6 separate regions of the Homo sapiens genome follow, and all the other regions are linked to region 1. Evidence: promoter capture Hi-C in human tissues and cell types (Jung and others, 2019). All regions are on one chromosome and are shown on one strand. The core of a region is centred on a gene start or on the middle of the fragment in contact, and the rest is flanking DNA. Distances in the headings are between cores, read along the strand shown.

Evidence for each region. Contacts are between HindIII fragments. The study calls those that stand out against the background at their distance.
Region 2: a fragment that was not itself captured here is called in contact with the fragment with the promoter of HNMT in region 1 in 1 of the 25 tissues and cell types used here (dorsolateral prefrontal cortex).
Region 3: a fragment that was not itself captured here is called in contact with the fragment with the promoter of HNMT in region 1 in 2 of the 25 tissues and cell types used here (dorsolateral prefrontal cortex and lymphoblastoid cells).
Region 4: a fragment that was not itself captured here is called in contact with the fragment with the promoter of HNMT in region 1 in 1 of the 25 tissues and cell types used here (dorsolateral prefrontal cortex).
Region 5: a fragment that was not itself captured here is called in contact with the fragment with the promoter of HNMT in region 1 in 2 of the 25 tissues and cell types used here (H1 embryonic stem cells and dorsolateral prefrontal cortex).
Region 6: a fragment that was not itself captured here is called in contact with the fragment with the promoter of HNMT in region 1 in 1 of the 25 tissues and cell types used here (hippocampus).

The regions. Positions count from the first base shown.
Region 1 is chr2:137,962,838-137,965,887 of GRCh38, reverse strand. It overlaps HNMT (histamine N-methyltransferase), which reads right to left and starts at 1,415. Exons shown (of 6, transcript NM_006895.3): 1 at 1,260-1,415. The coding sequence starts at 1,396. The HindIII fragment of the contact is 6,466 bases long and covers 1-3,050 here.
Region 2 is chr2:138,732,189-138,735,238 of GRCh38, reverse strand. The region is part of intron 1 of NXPH2 (neurexophilin 2); the gene reads left to right. Among named protein-coding and RNA genes, the nearest start is that of NXPH2, 47 kb to the left of the region's middle. The HindIII fragment of the contact is 6,849 bases long and covers 1-3,050 here.
Region 3 is chr2:138,704,037-138,707,086 of GRCh38, reverse strand. All of the region lies in intron 1 of NXPH2 (neurexophilin 2), which reads left to right. Among named protein-coding and RNA genes, the nearest start is that of NXPH2, 75 kb to the left of the region's middle. The HindIII fragment of the contact is 3,859 bases long and covers 1-3,050 here.
Region 4 is chr2:138,608,928-138,611,977 of GRCh38, reverse strand. The region is part of intron 2 of LINC02631 (long intergenic non-protein coding RNA 2631); the gene reads right to left. Among named protein-coding and RNA genes, the nearest start is that of LINC02631, 8.9 kb to the right of the region's middle. The HindIII fragment of the contact is 6,437 bases long and covers 1-3,050 here.
Region 5 is chr2:138,569,474-138,572,523 of GRCh38, reverse strand. SPOPL (speckle type BTB/POZ protein like) reads right to left here. Exons shown (of 11, transcript NM_001001664.3): 11 at 1-3,050. Among named protein-coding and RNA genes, the nearest start is that of LINC02631, 31 kb to the left of the region's middle. The HindIII fragment of the contact is 5,359 bases long and covers 1-3,050 here.
Region 6 is chr2:138,506,774-138,509,823 of GRCh38, reverse strand. All of the region lies in intron 1 of SPOPL (speckle type BTB/POZ protein like), which reads right to left. Among named protein-coding and RNA genes, the nearest start is that of SPOPL, 6.5 kb to the right of the region's middle. The HindIII fragment of the contact is 6,857 bases long and covers 1-3,050 here.

The DNA of each region.
Region 1 (3,050 bases), core at 166-2,665:
TTCATCATCGATTATGTTATCTCCATCCACGGTACCTCTTCAAACCAAACTGTGTATGGCTGAAGAAAACCAAGGATCTGGTAAGCTACAGACATGAGCAAATACTTTTAGTACTGAAAAAGAATTGAGAAATTAACTCATTACCTTTAACTTTAGAAATGAGCAAAGAAACCCAAAGAGGTTAACTATAATTAGTTCCTAGGTAAGAAGTTCTCTATATTTGCTATTTGCTTTGATGTTTGCATCCTTATCCTATTACATATTAATTTTTAATATATAATATCCTATTTTTTGAAAGCTAACATTTAAAATCTGAATCATGTTAAATAGAAAAGGAAATAAAATTTTATGTACATCTAATAATGCCTGCTCTGGTCAGACATAGGTACTGCCCTGGTGAAAGAATTTCAGGCCTGCAATAGAGAAATTCAGCAAAAGATAAAATACCACTTTCCTTTGCTGTTTGCAAATTGGATCCATAGTCATTTCTTCCCAGTTTTCCATTATTATTTCCTGAAGTAGAATGAGTTACAGCAAATCACCCCCAGATAGGTGATTTGATTATCTTTAGCATGTGGAATCTGTTACTCTCATAATGCTTATCAGCTCTGGCACAAATTGAACACATTAATCACCCAAAAAAAAGAACTCTGCAAGAAGGATAGGAACCAGTGAGTTTCACTGATAATGGGAAAATGGTTCTTTTTTTAAGGAACACATTGCTAATATTAAGCTGAAAGAAAAAGACAATTTTGAGGAAGAGAGTGATAACTATAACAATGGATAAGGAAAATTAATTTAAATGGATATTATGAGAACTGAGGCACTCAATCCTCAGGGCAAATCGTACTTTGGCAATTATTTATATTTGATTCTAATGAAAAGCATACCAGACTCCCTTTGGGACTTTTTTGGGATGTAAAATTTGGAGGAGGGCTGAAAAATCTGAGTTCGAAGATTAGCATCTTATCTTTTCCCAAATGAACATGGATTTGTGCCTTCAAATGGTTAACGCTTATCTCTATGCAGCTGGAAATACAACACAAATGGGAGCCTTTGAGTGTTCAAAGCAAACGTGGAACCAAAGCACTGCAGGAGAAAGGCAGGGCAGGGCAGCGAGGAGGGGACGACGGGGAGCTGCTATCAGTAATTCGCCCTTATCCCTGTGCCCAGCCTGCGAGGCTGAGCGAGACCCATCTATCACTGACGCACAGCCAGTCTGAGGCTTGTCCCTTTGACAACAACGTCCCTTTTGTTACCTTCCTATTATGCCTGGCAGCTTCTTGTCCATGAATTCCTGCATGCACTGGTGTTCCGTGGAATGGTTGAGAAACCTCCGGAAAGATTCAACATATTTCCCGTGGTCAGAAAACAAGCTCCTCATGGAAGATGCCATATTTGGTTTTCTGAGAAAGACAGAGCAGGAAGCAAGGTTTAAGTTCCCCTCCTTCTCTTCCCAGTTCCCTCTTTCTTTCCCCACCCCCACCAGTTTCTATCCAAAAAAAAAAAAAAAAATGCTAAGCTTGTTTTGAATTTAACATGCCACAAAGGCTGGCTTGTAGAGCTCATTACTGAGTCAATATTTGAACGGGACTTTGCACTGATACTTTAACCCCTATACGGTTGTTTTGTAAGAAATAGAAGTATTAAGCAAGGCTGTAAATCCACTGCTAAAACTTTTCAAATTCCTGAGGTTGAAAGGTCATAAAAACAAACTGTATTCAAATCACTTCCTGTTTTGTCAGCAAAGCCACAAGTAAGTTCCAAGTGGGAAAGTGACTGTTCGAAGTGGCAAACACCAGGATAAAGAGGACAGCTACACAGCACTCTCAGAAATCTACAGCAGTGAAATCTTTAACGGAAGACTGTCATCTGCCTCTGTGCTTTCTACGGGATTGTTTTGGGCCTTTACATTCCTCAGCACTTGAATTTTCAACTTATCTGCTGCATTTCTTCAAATGCTGATTTGTTGTAACTCAGAAATTATCTTAAAAGGAAGTCACGAAGGAGGAGCCCAAGAACTCGTAGCTAGAAGGTGTCAGAAGCTGCATTTAGGGGAATGAGAGTGGTAAGAGAAGTCTTGGAGCAAGAATGCAGGACACCAGGGTAAAAGTGCAGTCCATAGAATCCTTCCCTAAGCGCGCTGAACACGACGAGGTCATAGATACTTCGCTTGGCTGGATGAGCCTTTGGAAACCCAGTGGTGTCCCCACCAGAAGAGCCAAAGCTTCAGAGTACCCACACACAGTCTTTTTCCTGGGAAGAGGTCTTTAAGAAGGTCATCCTTTATCTAATATTGGGTTGTTAATAATAGCATCCAACTCATGGAGGAGTGCTGAGGATCAAATGAGTTAACTCATATAAGTCTCTTAGAAATATGTCTGCTTAAACCGTCCCTTCTTCTAATTGAGTTCCCAAGCTGCCCTCTAAGCATTCAAAACACTTCCCAACTCTCTTTTTTTTTTTGAGACAGAGTATCGCTCTGTCGCCCAGCCTGGAGTGCAATGGTGCGATCTCCACTCACTGCAACCTCCGCTTCCTGGACTCAAGTGATTCTCCTGTCTTAGCCTCCCGAATAACTGGGATTACAGGCACCCGCCACCACGCCTGGCTAATTTTTGTACTTTTAGTAGAGACAGGGTTTCACCATGTTGGCCAGGCTGATCTCGAACTCCTGATCTCAAGTGATCCACCCGCCTCGGCCTCCCAAAGTGCTGGGATTACAGGCGTGAGCCACCATTCCCAGCCCCCAACTCCCTTTTATAAGTATGTTTTGTTCTCACTATTCTTAGAGCCAGTGCTTTTACCCCGGGGGAAAGTGTAATATCTGGACAGGCAGATTGCCATGGATGACTCTGCCCTTAATGAACTGTCTGACTTTGGCTGAAACATAAGCTGCAGTTTGCTCATCAGTAAAATGGGAATGAATTTTATCTTATAGGGTTGTACTGAGAATAATATAACTAATGTTTAAAAAGTGCAAGCCAGTCCCTCTGCAAAAAAAATATATATATATAAAATGACAAAAACAGTCGTCACTTTATTCACGG
Region 2 (3,050 bases), core at 293-2,792, 770 kb before region 1:
ATACCAACTATAAAACTCCTACAAGAATCAGTCTCATAGTTCAGCTGTTTCATATTCATGGAATTATAGGAGGCTGATTACCTCATAACTCATAAAAACCAACATCCCCAAGTTCAGGGGCATCCATTGTCATGGACTTGCCAGAACAGCGCCATTTCTATCTATGCTTATTACCCAATATAACTGCCTTTCTGCCTAATCTCAACTACTGACTTCACCTTCTTCCTGTTTGGTCACACCCCAGATTAACATTTTAATTACTACTTATAGACTGATGGCCCCTAAATCTACATCCCTGGCCCTTGACCAGTTTTCTGATTTGTATCTCCTCATTCTACATCTTTATCAAGATGTTTCTGAGCCACGTGAGCTCAGTTTACCCTACACTGAATTCTCTCTCCTCTCCTCTTATCCATGCTCACCATATTGCATCTCTTTGCAAATGGTTCTATCAGCCATCTGAGCACAAAAGCACAAATCTTGGGAATCATTCTGGTTTCATACTTTCTTCACCCCATTTTCCATACCCCATCAGCCACCAAGTCTTGTTTGTTCTGCCTCTTCAAAATCTCTCATCACTACTGTGGTCTCCCTCTGGCTTATTGCTGTCACCTTTATAGCTGGCATTCCCATCTTCAGGATCACCCTCTCTATTTCACATTCCATCCTTCTACAAGGAGGTATTCCTTTTTTAAAATTCAGCTCAAGTACTCCCTTCTCCTTAAAGCTTTCCCTGGCTTGACCATTTCTTCCTTTCTACCACCTGTCACATTGAATAGTTACTGTGTTTACCTCATTGCCTTTCTCTCTAAATTATGCATGAGACAACAGAAATTCAGCTTTATTTATCTTTGTATCCCCAATGTTCAGAATATGACAGATAGTCAGACTCATTGAATTGAATATCTCCAATGTAAATCCTGCTTCTCAGTGACTTCTGTGAATTCTAGACCTGCCCTTTACAGCCACCTCGAATATCTCATTCTTCTTTTTTGTGACAGAGTCTTCTTCTATCACCCAGGCTGGAATGCAGTGGTGGGATCTTGACTCACTGCAACCTCCTCCTACCAGGTTCAAACAATTCTCCTGCCTCAACCTCCTGAGTAGCTGTGATTACAGGCACCCAACATGATGCCTGGCTAATTTTTGCATTTTTAGTAGAGATGGGCTTTCACCATATTGGCCAGACAGGTCTTGAACTACTGACATCAGGTGATCCACCTGCCTTGGCCTCCCAAAGTGCTGGGATTACAGGTGTGAGCCACCATGCTCACCCTCATTCTTCTTTTGCTTGACGTTTCTTCAAGTATTTACAATGAACATTCACATTTTCCCCTACGTCTTTTCTTTTCCTGATGTAGTTGCAAATCTTTCCACTATCCCTGACTTTGTTTTCAGGACACTTGCAGATGCTGGTCAGCGTCTTCAGGAAATAATTGTATTACTCAATGTCATTTTTAGAATCAAGTCTGAATATCAGGATGGAGTCTGAGCCCCATGGGTACAGTAGCCTCCTTTGATAGTCACCTATAGTCTGTACTTATAATGCAGCCGAACATTGTGAGAGCTTTCTTAGATGTCATATCCCTTGTTATTAATAATGGTAGCTAGAGGGCAATTCAACATACAGATATATTTTCACGTAAAATGACAATTTCTGAAGAATTTTTCTCTAAGTTTAAGTGCAAGACTTCACATGTCTCTCCATTCATTTAAACTCTTTTCTTCTTGCCTTTCAAGATCCTTTTGGCTCTTTGTTATGTTACCTGAAATATTAACTATCTTTCCCAGTTTTGAGTCACTTGAAGACTTGGTTAATGGCTTTCCTCTAGGTTTACACAGAAATAAAATATCCAGATCTTCATTCAGCCCCTGTTTAAATTCAGATGTTTTTCTCAATATGTGTAACTTCGCATCCGTTCTTTCTGAGTTACTCTCAGTTAACAAAGTGGCCTTTTGTTTATCTTGATTTCTTTAAATACACTTATCACTAAACCATTCATACTAAGGGATCTCAGAAACTTTTTATTCAATAGAAAGAACAGCTTCAAGGGAATTTCTCCTTCAGGTCATTTCATTATAGACTGTGTAGATATGGGATGGATGTACAAGAAAAACCATACAACACAAATTGCTTCAGTAAGTTCACTTTTCTCAAGTGTTCAGAAACAAAGAGCTATATAAGGCATTTGAAGGATTTGTGCATGTCAAACAGAACAAGAGATCATTTAAGAGGAAGAAGTCACAGCAGCTACATGAAAATGAGGGAAATATATTCAATTGCTTAGAAGTTTATTTTATGGAATACCAAATATTTGTGATTTGCCTCTGAATTTTTTCTTTTAATCTAGAAGTTTTGGCTTTAAGTCAAATGTGCCATAATGTGCTTAATCAGCACTGGTGAGCAGACCTCTAAAAGTGGAATAGGAAGAATAAGGAATGGAACCAGGAAGAGGTACAGTGTTAAGAATTACCGAGAGCCAGTTATTAGGACTTCAGAATCACAGGTCAAAGCCACAGAATAGAATCAGAATATTGGCAGGAGGAACATTTAAAAGACCCTAGACAAAGAAGGAGAAGAAGAAAAAAAACCTTAGCGTGTCTTGTAAAGCCAAGGTGACAAGTCAGGAGAAGAGCAGGTCCAGCACAGCAGAGCTTTTAGGCACAGGAATGAAGCCTCAGCCAACATGCCTGAGAGAGCCTGAAATCTCACCTTACTTGGAAGGAAGTGCACAGCCCAAGGCTGACATTGACAGATTTCAGAGGAGATCATCTCCTGAAAAGAATCCCCTCCTTCGCAATCTCACACATCAGTGTTTCTACTTGTCCTCCTTACCTAACCATGCTGGTGCCTTTTAAAAGACCCAGATGCATCTCCTACTCTTCCAGTGCTGGATGTGTGACCAGTTACCAGGAGAGCTTCTCGACTTTCTCCTCTTCTCTATGACTTTCCATAGGCCAGTTTTCTCTACTGGATTCAAAAAACATCTTTGATTGCCCAAGATGATTACATCCTTAATCACAGAGCCCTCCTTTTGACACATTGTGTA
Region 3 (3,050 bases), core at 222-2,721, 740 kb before region 1:
GCAAGTACTTAAAGTCATCTTCCAATCAATCTAAATCTTTCTAGAATTTTTACATTTTTCCTTTTATCTCTTAATAGTTTTCTTGCTCTCATTTATTGAACAGCAATTTTTTAAGAGACCCATCTGCAACAAGTTTCTCTAAGCATTCACCTTAACTTTTTTTTCTTTATTTTAGTTTATTTTAAAGACAGGGTCTCACGGTGTTACCCAGGCTGGAATGCAATGGTGCAATCATAGCTCACTATAGCCTCATCCACCTGGGCTCAAGTCATCTTCCAGCCTCAGCCTCCTGAGTAGGTGGGACTTCAGGTACACACTACCACACCTGCCTACTTAAAAAAAAAATGAAGTCTTTCTATGTTGCCCAGGCTGTTCTCAAACTCCTGACTTCAAGCAATCTTCCCGCTTTGGCCTCCAAAAGTGCTGGGATTACAGGCGTGAACCACGACACCTGGCCTTAATTTTCATATAAAGAACAACTTTTTTCTCATTCATATTCATCAGCCTATCTAATAAATACTTTATTAAGTTACGTAATTAAAATGACAACTATAACTGGCATAAACAGGATGGGGACAAACAGCTGTCTCACATAAAATTCAAAATAATTGGATAGATCCTAGAGAACAGCCCACCAGCTGTGTGCATTCGGGATACTTGGGCATCAGCAAGATCCAATGGAGAACATTGGTTAATCTGGCCAATTGGTTAACATCCTTAAACAACTTCTTAACTTTTCTAGAGCATGTCATTTAATATAGACTACAGCAGCTCTGCTACTTTCTTGCTTACACTGCCAACTTAATTCCTTAAGCATCAGTTCCCTCAGCTGTAAAATAAGGATAGTAGAATAATACCTGCCTCTCAGGGTTGTTGTGAGGTCTAAATGAGATAACAGGCACAGAGAAAATTCTTAGTAAATATTTGTTATCTTTTTATTAATAGACATAGTATGTTCTGTAATGGTCAGACCACAGGCATAGATTGTTTTCCCTTAAAACACTCTGATACATAAAACTGTAAACACATACAGAGCAGAAATCCTGGTTTTCAACTTTGCATCCTTCTCACATTGTAAGGATTTAATAAATGTTTCTGGAATTCATTGATCATATTACATTTTTATGGGGAATATGAAGGAACAGGATCACAATCAGAGTGAAGTCACCAGGATGGTTATGAGAATTGAAGAATGGTTTTTGATTAAAAAGTGGAGGCATTTGGTCCGAAGAGGGGCTTACTCAGTAATACAAACATCCTCAGCTATATGAATGTTTATTTTATGAAGAATCACTGAGCTTGTTCTGTAAGACTCTAGAAAGAGAGAGAGAACAAGGACCACTGAATAAAGTTCTAGGCAGACAGATTTCAGCTTAGTAGAAACAAGAATTTTAACAGAGAATTTAAAGATGAAATAGGTTCCCTTGGGAGATAGTTAGCTCCCTGTCACACCACGTTCAAAGACAGGCAGGATGACCAACTTGGCAGTGATAGTGTAGAATAAATTCAGGGAATTCATTTAGATAATGGGAACTTCCCTCAAATTGTAATGGCAGCACCAAAATCAGTTACTGAGTAAAATCTACTAAGAGGGATTAGACAGAAGACACTCTGGGTCTTTAGACTGCCAAAATAAGCATAGTACTACATGTTATTGTTTCATCTTTACTATAAAAAGCTTTCTTTTTTAAAAGAATGATTATTTATTGTCTCAAAATGCCTCAGACATGACTTAAAATATACGTATATTTAATATGAGAATTCCATATATCAAATCAAGAAGGAAAAAAAGGATCTTAATGTTTATTTTTAATAATATTATTGGCCAGGCATGGTGGCTGATGCCTGTAATCTCAACACTTTGAGAGGCCATGATGGGAAGATTGCTTGAGGCCAGGAGTTGGAGACCAGCCTGAGCAACGTATCGAGACTCCATCTCTACAAAAAAATTTTTTTAAAAGACCAAGTGTGGTGGCTCACGCCTGTTATCCCAACACTTTGGGAGGCCGAGGCAGGCAGATCACCTGAGGTCAGGAGTTTGAGACCAGCCTGGCCAACATGGTGAAACCCTGTCTCTACTAAAAACATTCAAAAATTAGCCAGGCATAGTGGCGGACACCTGTAATCTCAGCCACTTGGGAAGTTGAGGCAGGAGAATCGCTTGAACCCAGGAGGCAGAGGTTGCAGTGAGCCAAGATTGTGCCATTGCACTCCAGCCTGAGTGACAAGAATGAAACTCCATCTCAAAAAAAAAAAAAAAAAATTAGCTGGGCGTGGTGGTGCACACATGTAGTCCCAGCTACCTAAGAGGCTAAGGTGAGAGGATCACTTGAGCCGAGGAGTTCAGGCTGCACAATTAAGACATGATTGTGCCACTGCACTGCAGACTTGCTGAGAGAGCAAGACCCTGTCTCTAAAAGCAACAAAAAATAAACCCTTAAAATATCACTACAGTAGAATCTTCTAAAGGAGCTAAATACCTTGAAGATGTGCAGGCTCCCAGTTCCCCTCCTTCTGATTTAATTGGTCTGAGATGGCATAAGCTTTCTAGGACTGTGTTTCTCAAACTATCTGTATAAATAACCAGCTGTTGTTTAGGTGCCAATCTGATGCTTTTATAACATGCACAATCAAATGATTAAATAATGTTCTAATATCAACTTGCCATAAAAGTTTCCAAACACAGAAGTATCTATCTTAGACTGCTGATAGTTTGTAGACTGTACTTCTTTAAGGGGCAGTGATTCTAACATAAAGCTGGAGTGACCAGCCCCTGGCTTACAGAGCCTGGGTTATATCTGTCAGTCATTACCTTCCATAGAACTTGTTTCAAGATGGTATATCTACTAGTATTTTATACTTTAATAGCCTGAGGACACATTTTAGTCAGGAACATTGACATATAGTTCGGGTGCTCCCAAAGCACATAGGAAAAGGCTAGACCTTTATCAAATATCCTGTATCCCAGGCATTGTCAAGGGTCTGTGAGACAAAAGCTGACTCTGATCTAGGTTTTGCCCTAAATAGGTTCACATTCGGGTATGGGCAAG
Region 4 (3,050 bases), core at 339-2,838, 650 kb before region 1:
GGAGCAGATAATAGGAAGTTTGGCTAATTTTGTAAAAGTTCAGATTGTGATAAGGGATACAAGAGAAATAAAACAGTGTAATGAAATAGATTCAGTCTTGTACAGCCTAGAAATCTAACCCTGACCTATTTATTCATGACTGACACTGGTTTTAATGTCTTGCTGTGATTATAAGCATTACCAGATGGGCATGGCAGCTCATGCCTGTAATCTTGGCCCTTTGGGAGGCTGAGGAGGGCCAATCATGAGCCCAAGAGTTCGAAACCAATCCAGGCAACATGGCAAAATCTCACTTCTACTAAAAATAATAAATAAAAAAAATTCAGCAGGCGTGGTGTCATGCTCCTATAGTCCCAGCTATTTTGGAGGCTGATGTGGGAGGATCACCTGAGCTTGGGAAGTTTAGGCTGCAGTGAGCCAAGATCACGCCATTGCACTCCAGCCTGGGTGATAGAAGTGAGACAAAAAATAAAATAATTTTAAAAATAAAAAAATAAAAAAGCATTACCCTGTGAACTCCTTTAGGGCCTCAAGAGGGTATTTCATTTTTTCATCTTCAATATGTTCCTAAGTACTCATTTAAGTGTTGAATGTTAACAGAGACAAAATATTATTAGTCCAACAAATATGTCTTCTTGAGCAATGGTGGGATGTAATTTGAAGCGTAAGAAGCCTTCTTCCAACACCACCTCCCACCTCACATGATGCCTGGAGATTCTGCCCAGGAATGTTCTATAGGCGGTATCCTATAGTAGAAGTTCAATGGCTTTGAAAGAATTTGGCCTGTCCACTTTTAGCGAGAGTTCTTCCTCTTATTATTAGACCTAGATTCAATATATCAGAAATAAAGACTGTCACAACCAAACTCCAAATTAACTAAATTTTTAGGCTTATTTTTCACCCTTTGAGTGGAAAAACTAAAATTGTTTTTCTTCTGCTCTCAACCACAGTAACAATCAATCATCACAGAAGACTTCTGCTACCAAATATGTGGGGGTTTTTCCCCACCAAAAAGCAAGCAATCAATTCTGCAGCAGACACCACTGCGTGCCATCTAATTCAACTCAATTCTGACACTACCTACCTGGAAATAGTGTTAGATCCCACAGAGTGAGGGCTCAGTCCCTAAGATTACCCCACCCCAGCCCAGCTTCTGAGACCAGTTGCTAACCCCAGGTTGTTATTCTTGTGCTTCTGATCGACTGGCTATGAATCAGAGGTCTCATGACATCCAGCCCCTTAGATTTGAATAATTTGTGAGAACAGCTCACAGAACACAAGGAAACACATTTACTGGTTTATCAGAAAGGATATTAGAAAGGATACAGATGAAGAGTTACACAGGGCAAGGTATGGGGAGAGCTGTGGAGCTTCCAAGGCTCACCACCCTCCGGGGCTCACCATCCTCCAGGAACCTCCATGTGTTCAGCTATCTGAAAGCTCCCTGTCTTCTTGGGCCTTTTATGGAGACTTCATTGGGTAGGCATGATTGACAACAGTGTAGACATGAGATCTGATAAAAAGGGTATGACTTAATACTAATAGGCTGAGTGAGGAACCCAGCAAGGCCTGTCTGTTCAGATTTTTCTTGGCCTCTCTGTGCAGTATTCTTTCCTCCCAGGTATGGGGCAGGGCTCCTTCTGAGATGGGGGTCTTATGATCTACAATCAGACAAGCTAAGTCATAAAATTTCTTTTTGGATAGGTTGGGGAAGATTAGAGTCCTGCTTTGGAGGAAAACAAAGGAGCAGGTGAAACGAAGGCAGGAGAAGATCAGAGAGCAAACTTCTATTTTCTGAGGCCTGTTTCTGAGGCTCAATTCACCCCAACATTATAAGAAAAGCCTATAACAAGGGCTATGGGAGTTATGAGTCAGGAAGGATGAAAACATATATATATGATATATATATATATATATAACATATATATATGATATATATATATATAACATATATATATGATATATATATATATATAAATCATATATATATAATAACATCACACACCCCAATGTACTCCTTACACTCTCAAAGGAAAGAGAATCAACAGAAGAAAAGGCAGAACAATACAACCAGACAAAAGCTTTAGAAGTCTTCCTTCTTTTACTGTATCCACACATCATTGGTCAGAATAGGTCAGAATAGGCCAGCTTATGCTATAGTAATAAGCTCGGTAGCCTAACATAACAGAGGTCTCCTGCTCATACAAATTCTGCTGTGGGTCCAAATAAGTCTCTAGAACACTTTCCCTCCAGTGTTACTCAGCCATGCAAGCTGTGCATTTCAACACAAGTCCAGTTCAGGTGCCACGGTGGCTTGTCTATGCGTTGGCCTGGAAATGACACACATCTTCTTCAGTCACAGTCCCTGAGCCAGAACCAGTCTTGTAACCCTGCCTACCTGTGCAGGTGCTGAAAAACGTGAGGAAGCAACTGGGATGTTTGAGGAACACCACTGCCTTTCCCACATTAGTCACTAAGGGTATCAAGGAAAGAACACTAAAAGCAAGGAAGTGTTCATGGGCCCCTGACCCTGGTCTATGTCTGCCTTACTCTCCTACCAACACCAAGATGGGAATCCTGGGAGGTTCTTACACAGTTTTACATAGCAGGTAGAATCAGTTGGCAATAAAGCCTGGAGACTTGTCTCACTATTTCTGAGATTCTGGCCACCATCGCCGCCCCATCCATGGCTATGGTTATAAAAATCTCTCCTTAAAGTTGTAATTTCCAAATGATAGCTTGCCCCAAATATCAATGCTTCCCCAAAACAGTCTAAAAGACTTTCATGACAGATTCTGAAAATAGGGTCGAAAACACATTAAGGCCGGTCACGGTGGCTCATGCCTATAATCCCAGCACTTTGGGAGGCCGAGGTGAGCGGATCACTTGAGGTCAGGAGTTCGAGACCAGCCTGGCCAACATGGTGAAACTCCATCTCTACTAAAAAGCATAAAAATCAGCTAGACGTCGTGGCATGTGCCTGTAGCCCCAGCTACCCAAGAGGCTGATACAGAAGAATTGCTTGAACCTGGGAAGCAGAGGTTGCAGTG
Region 5 (3,050 bases), core at 364-2,863, 610 kb before region 1:
TATACTTAAGTATGTTGAGCTGGATTTTCACAATCCCTGTTCTATTTTAGTAACACTGGGTCATATCTATGACCCACATTTTATAAAGAATTCTGATTAAGATTTTAAATTTATGAACAAAATTTAAATGGGTATATTATTAATTCTAATTTTGGCCATCTAAGCTCTTATTTAGATCCAGTTTAAAAATAAATGAATAATGTTCATGACAACTTTTTGAGATCTTTGTTAATATTTTAAAACAATTTTATTATAATTGATGTCCTAAAAAGGCACTGTTTTCACATTTCATCATGCAGTAAATTGATCACATTTTTGAAAATTATCATTTCCTCTGTTAATCAATTGTCCTCCAAAGTAAAGCATATTTAAATGAAATATTTCTGCTAACCTGAACTTTCAACATTTAACTGATTTCTATTTCCAGAAATTCACTCTTTGTAACATACCACACACAAGCCCCAAGCAAATACAGGTATGTACACAAACACACAGACACACACGCGCATACACACACACACACACGATCACATATTTCATGCAAGGTTCTCCAATTACCAATTCAAGACAATGACACATGACTATTCAAGGAGGTAACATTGGCAAGCCATATTATGGCACCTTCATTATTTGTGCTCCAAATATCAACACACATTAAAATTAAAAATGAAAAGGCACAAATATAGTATTTCTAAGTGTTGGTCTAAACAACAGTTACCCAATGATTATTCTTATAGTATGCAACATTTGAAACCATTCACTACCTTCTCAGAAAAAGCCTTGCTTAGGTGACAAAGGGAAACAGGAACAGGCTAATAGCTCAAAAGGCGGGACAGAGTATCTATACCTATTTTGAAAGTAATGTATGCAGTTTAAAAATGAGGAGAAGGAGGCTATTAGAGCACTCATGTCAGAATACATTAAGTGTTTTTATCATTGCCTCAAGAACCCACAATACCAAAAATATACATAATAAATAAAAAAATAAATCAACTACCATATGATTCTGTTAGTATAATGGTAGGCATTATATTATCTGAAAAGTGGACATTTCTACAAACATGGATATTCTTACAGCACAGTGTTTGACATTTTTGGTACAAAATGTGCTACCAAACTAAAAAAAAAATCTTTATAATAAAATCCTTAAGATTTGCAATAAACTCTCGAGTAAGTAAGAAGAAGCTGAAATGTTCATTATACGGTATTTTTACTGAAGTCACTGTGGTTAGAAATATAGATTCAAGCGGTGAATTAAATCACAATGTGCCGGTGTGGTGCGCATTGGATATAAATGGATACATCAGTACTTTTCTGATATATGACAACATAATTCTATAGCCTGAGGGAATTTTTGTTTTCTTATAAGACCCTCGCAAAATCTTAAAACTGGAAATGTATACATATGTATGTATGTATGTGTATTTTTAAAATTGTATATTGCAAACTTGAGGCTCAATCTTACGATGGATTTAAGGAAGTGAATTTCTACTTCCCATAATACTCTTACACAGGATGAAGTATGAAGTTCCATCACCAGGTAAGAATCTTTCTTCTATCCCAAGAGATTCTTCCAATTTCAAATTTAAGTTACCACGACAAAGAATGAAACTACATAGAAAGTAATGAAGACAGGTGAAAATACGATCTTTTTAAACTCTAGGTTGTTGTGGATAACAAATGCTTAGTTGAGTTTTTTCAATGTAAATATGAATCCAAATGAATCTGGACATATTCGAATTGCTTCAGTTAACACCTAACAAAGAGATAGCAAAAATAAGGTCTATTTGAAAACACCTCAAGCTTCATTTTTTCTTTTGTCCTGAATTCAAACATTAAATAAACAAATTATACAAATTTTAATCTGAAGAATAGTTATGTTTGCAAACATAGGTATATGCGTTTTTTTCCAGTGACACACTTTTTCCCTTGTGGTCAAATATAAATCTTGCCCTTAAGAAGCACACTGGTCACCACCACAGTAAGTCAGATGTGGTACCCCAACACTGACTGCTTCTGCTTCTCCAGGACAATGCACCAGAACAAACCTCCCTTAAGAACACAACTATCAAACACTGAACGTGTATATGCATTTAAAGCTAAAATTCATTTATAATAAAGAACTGGCCCATGAAAAGCAGTTTATAAATAGTTTATCCTGTTCACATTATGCAGAATTTCAGTATCATCCACAATGTTAGTACAGTAACTGAAACACAATGAAGAAAAACGGGGAGTGAGGGGAGGTTCCTAGTGTGACCTGACATAGTCTAAGGGTTCTCTCCTTTTGTATGCATCTCCCAAAGGCAAGTATCAGTTAATTGTTTGAAGGAGAGTAGACTATCCAGGATTCATTTATTGTTCAGGTGTCTTTTCCAAAGTGTGAGAAAATAGGAGTCAATTCAATAATGAATATCTGTAATCCAAACCAATTTAACTACAATCAAGGATGTCTTTCTCATCTATTATCACAAACATCCCAGTTGCCTCCATCTAAAAATTTCTTTGAAAAGTTAAGACACAATTAATTATACCTTATTAATTCCCTCAAAAGCAAAAAAATATATGTACCATTCAGCATACAAAAGTTACACAGTAAAAGTGCATATGTATCTTTCTTAATTGGCCCACTCATTAAATTTGCATTTGGTCATCCTTACTTTTAACATGTACAGAATTCTTCGTATAAATGTAGGTCAGTATAAATTAAAAAAAAATTACTTCCACACAATACATGCTTTCTTCATGAAATCTTAACCTCAATCAGTTCTCAATAATTGTAAACTTAGAATAAACCCACAGTTTGTTGGACAGTTAACATACAAGACAAACATCATAAATGTCACTAAAAATCTAGGCCAACTCATTGCATATTTGCCCCCTGAAATGAAAAATAAATTAGAATTGAAGCAGTGTATTGCCATAACTTACCTTGAAGGTAAGAGGGTTCTCCCATATTTATAGAACTTAGATTGGAGATATTACTGGTAATCTCCAATACAAGTGCTTTTAAAGAGAACTTAAACTTTGAGATAGCATAGGACAAACCC
Region 6 (3,050 bases), core at 326-2,825, 540 kb before region 1:
ATACTATACAATACCAACCATGAATCTAAGGTAAACCATGCACTCTGGATGATAATGATGGGTCAATGCAGATTCATCAGTTTAAAAAATGGGTCACTCTGGTGGGGAATGGTGATAATGGAGGAGGCTATGTCTGTATGGGTGCGAGGGATGTATGGAAAATCTTTGTAGATTCTGCTCAACTTCTTCAGTGAACCTAAAACAGCTTCAAAAACATAAAATCTATTTTTTTAAAAAATCACCTAACTGGGGGGTTCGAGGAGGGGAGATACAAATCTATTTTACACAAGAAAAAAATTGTTAAATTTGCTTCAGAAAACATACCCAAACAGGAAACAATGGTATTTTCTTTGTCAATAAATATAACATTATATTTTGTTATTTTTGTTTTTTGAATTTAATCTCAGCTCATACCTATAAAATAATATTTCAAAAGCATACTACTTTTTAGATATACTATCAATCTTCAGTTCTGCAGAAAATAAAAACACCTCTTTGTTTTTAATTGTTAACCCTAAATATTTTTACTTATTTATCTACTATAGGATGAAAGCAAATACACCAACTCCAAAGAAGTGTGTGTGTTGGGGGAAGGGGAGTATTTTCTAAATATATTCGTATTGCAGAGATGAGTATCTTCATCATACCTTCACTTTAGGTATATATACATATACGTATCTCCTATCTAACCTGTCCCAACCATGGTTTGAGGTGCAAAAATTTCATACTTGAGAATAAAAAAATCATTTTAATCTGCTAGCTTTTACCTATGTAAAGTTTAGTCTCATGTATTACACAATTCAGAATATAATGCTAATAATTATCCTGACCTCTTTTAGAACATATAAGCAGGTATAAAGAATACCAAACAGGAGCTATAGTTATGTTCAACATAAAGATAAAACGCCTCTAAAAGGGTACCTGTAAGAGCCATAATAAATACATGAAAAGCACACAGTTGTTATATAAGACATAACAAAACTTAAAACCAAGGAGAAGGCAAGAGCAAAAGATTTTAAAGCCAGTATGAACTAGTAAAAATAAATTTTTAAAGTTATAATTTTCTTAATTCCCTTGAGGCCAGGAGTTTGAGACAAGCCTGGGAAAGACAGTGAGACCCGTCTCTGCCAAAAAATAAAATAAACTGGATGTCTTCTAGAACTTTTCATTTACTGTGTTTTTAAAATTCACTTTGGCCAGACCCAGTGGCTCAGCCTATAATCCCAGCACTTTGGGAGGCTGAGGTGGGAGGATTACTTGAGGTCAGGAGTTCAAGACCAGCCTGGCCAACATGGTGAAACCCCATCTCTACTAAAAATACAAAAGTTAGCTGGGCATGGTGGCTGTGCCTGTAGTCCCAGCTACTCAGGAGGCTGAGGCAGGAGAATTGTTTGAACCAGGAGACAGAGGTTGCAATGAGCTGAGATCACGTCACTGCACTCCAGCCTGGGCAAAAGGGCAAGACTCTGTCTCAAAAAAATAGAAAATAAATAAAGAAAGAATAAAATTAATTTTAACATAATTTTCCTTTCTATCCCATTATTTTCTATGAGACCCTGCCCTTGCCAATTAAGGTTTTGCCAACTACAGTATTCTTCAAAAAGTTTATCCATGTCTATAGATAAATTGTATTCTACCCATGGTCCAAGAGAAAAGTCCAGGGATTTGTAGACTTTTTGATGTAATACAACCACCTAAAATAACATTTAAGCTATCAGGGGATGGCTGTCATTCTACTGAGCCCAGAAACACCATCATTGACCATATACCCAAGGTTTAGTACTACATCTTCACCAATCCTTAGCAAGGCTTTCCTTTTAAACTCCCTAAAATTGAGAGAAAAAGTTACATGTATAAAATTTCTTCCATAATAAGTCACTGGAATATAACTAAAATATTTATGCTATCAGTTATTGAATGAACCTGTAAGTATAGATTTAATACATATAATGTAAAGCTAACTAGCAAAAATAAAACACTACCTTGGGCAATAAATACTAAAACAAAGAAATATTTAATTCTTAAAGATATTAAAAAGATACCTCCACATTTAGTGACTATATGGGTGGTAAGGATATTAATAAAAAAAATCCAAAAAAGATACAAGTTCAAGTGAGAAACCTTTAAATGGCATGGCCAACCTCTCCAACCTACTACCCGTGTACTCTAGCCCCAATTTCTGCCTTTGCAGGCTTTCAAATTACTTGGAGTATCATTTCTTTAAACTCCTCTGCCACCTATGTTTAACTCGTCTTCTCCACCTGTGTAACTTGACTTTCAGAAACACTCTGCTCAAGGGTCATTTTCCTTGAAAGCCTCCCCTGATGCCCCTGCTCTGTGCTTCCAAGGCAACCTGAATAAACTGCCACGACAGCACTAATCACACAAGAAAAACAAATATTTGTTTAATCGTTCATGGTCCCTAGTCTCTGAATTCTAATCCCATACCTAGAAGTCTAGCATTCAGTGTCTGATAAATAGTGAGTATTTAAAAAATACATACTATGAATGAATAAGCTGTGAAAAGTTTTAGATACTTATAGAACAGCCAGATGATACTAAAAACACGTCTGAACTCAGGAAGACAGATATGGTTCATATTATAGATTTAATATTTTATTTTAATTTAGGATTGTAACTTCGGCAGATTAATACAAAATTCATCATCAAACAGTTTATGGGTGTATTGACAACCAGAAATATAAAATTTTCTTCATGTTGCTAAATTCAGCGTATGCTCTTTAGTTTGCCACTTAATTTCCCAGTTGCATTCAAAATATTCAACTGGCCACTCCCTTCTTTTTCAGTCTATTGCCTTGGCTTCAGTGATACCAACAAAATTTTCTTCCAACCTCTAGCTTCTTCCTTCTCAGCCTCTTTTGTTCCATTTCTTTCTACCAAAGTTCAAATGTGAAAGATTCATAGGGCTTACTCATAAGACCCCTTATCTTCTCCATACTATCTCCTTAAGCAATCTCATCCCTCACTCCCAGACATCAATTATAAACTGTACACTATTCCCAAATTTATTTCCAGTCCAAACCTCTTTG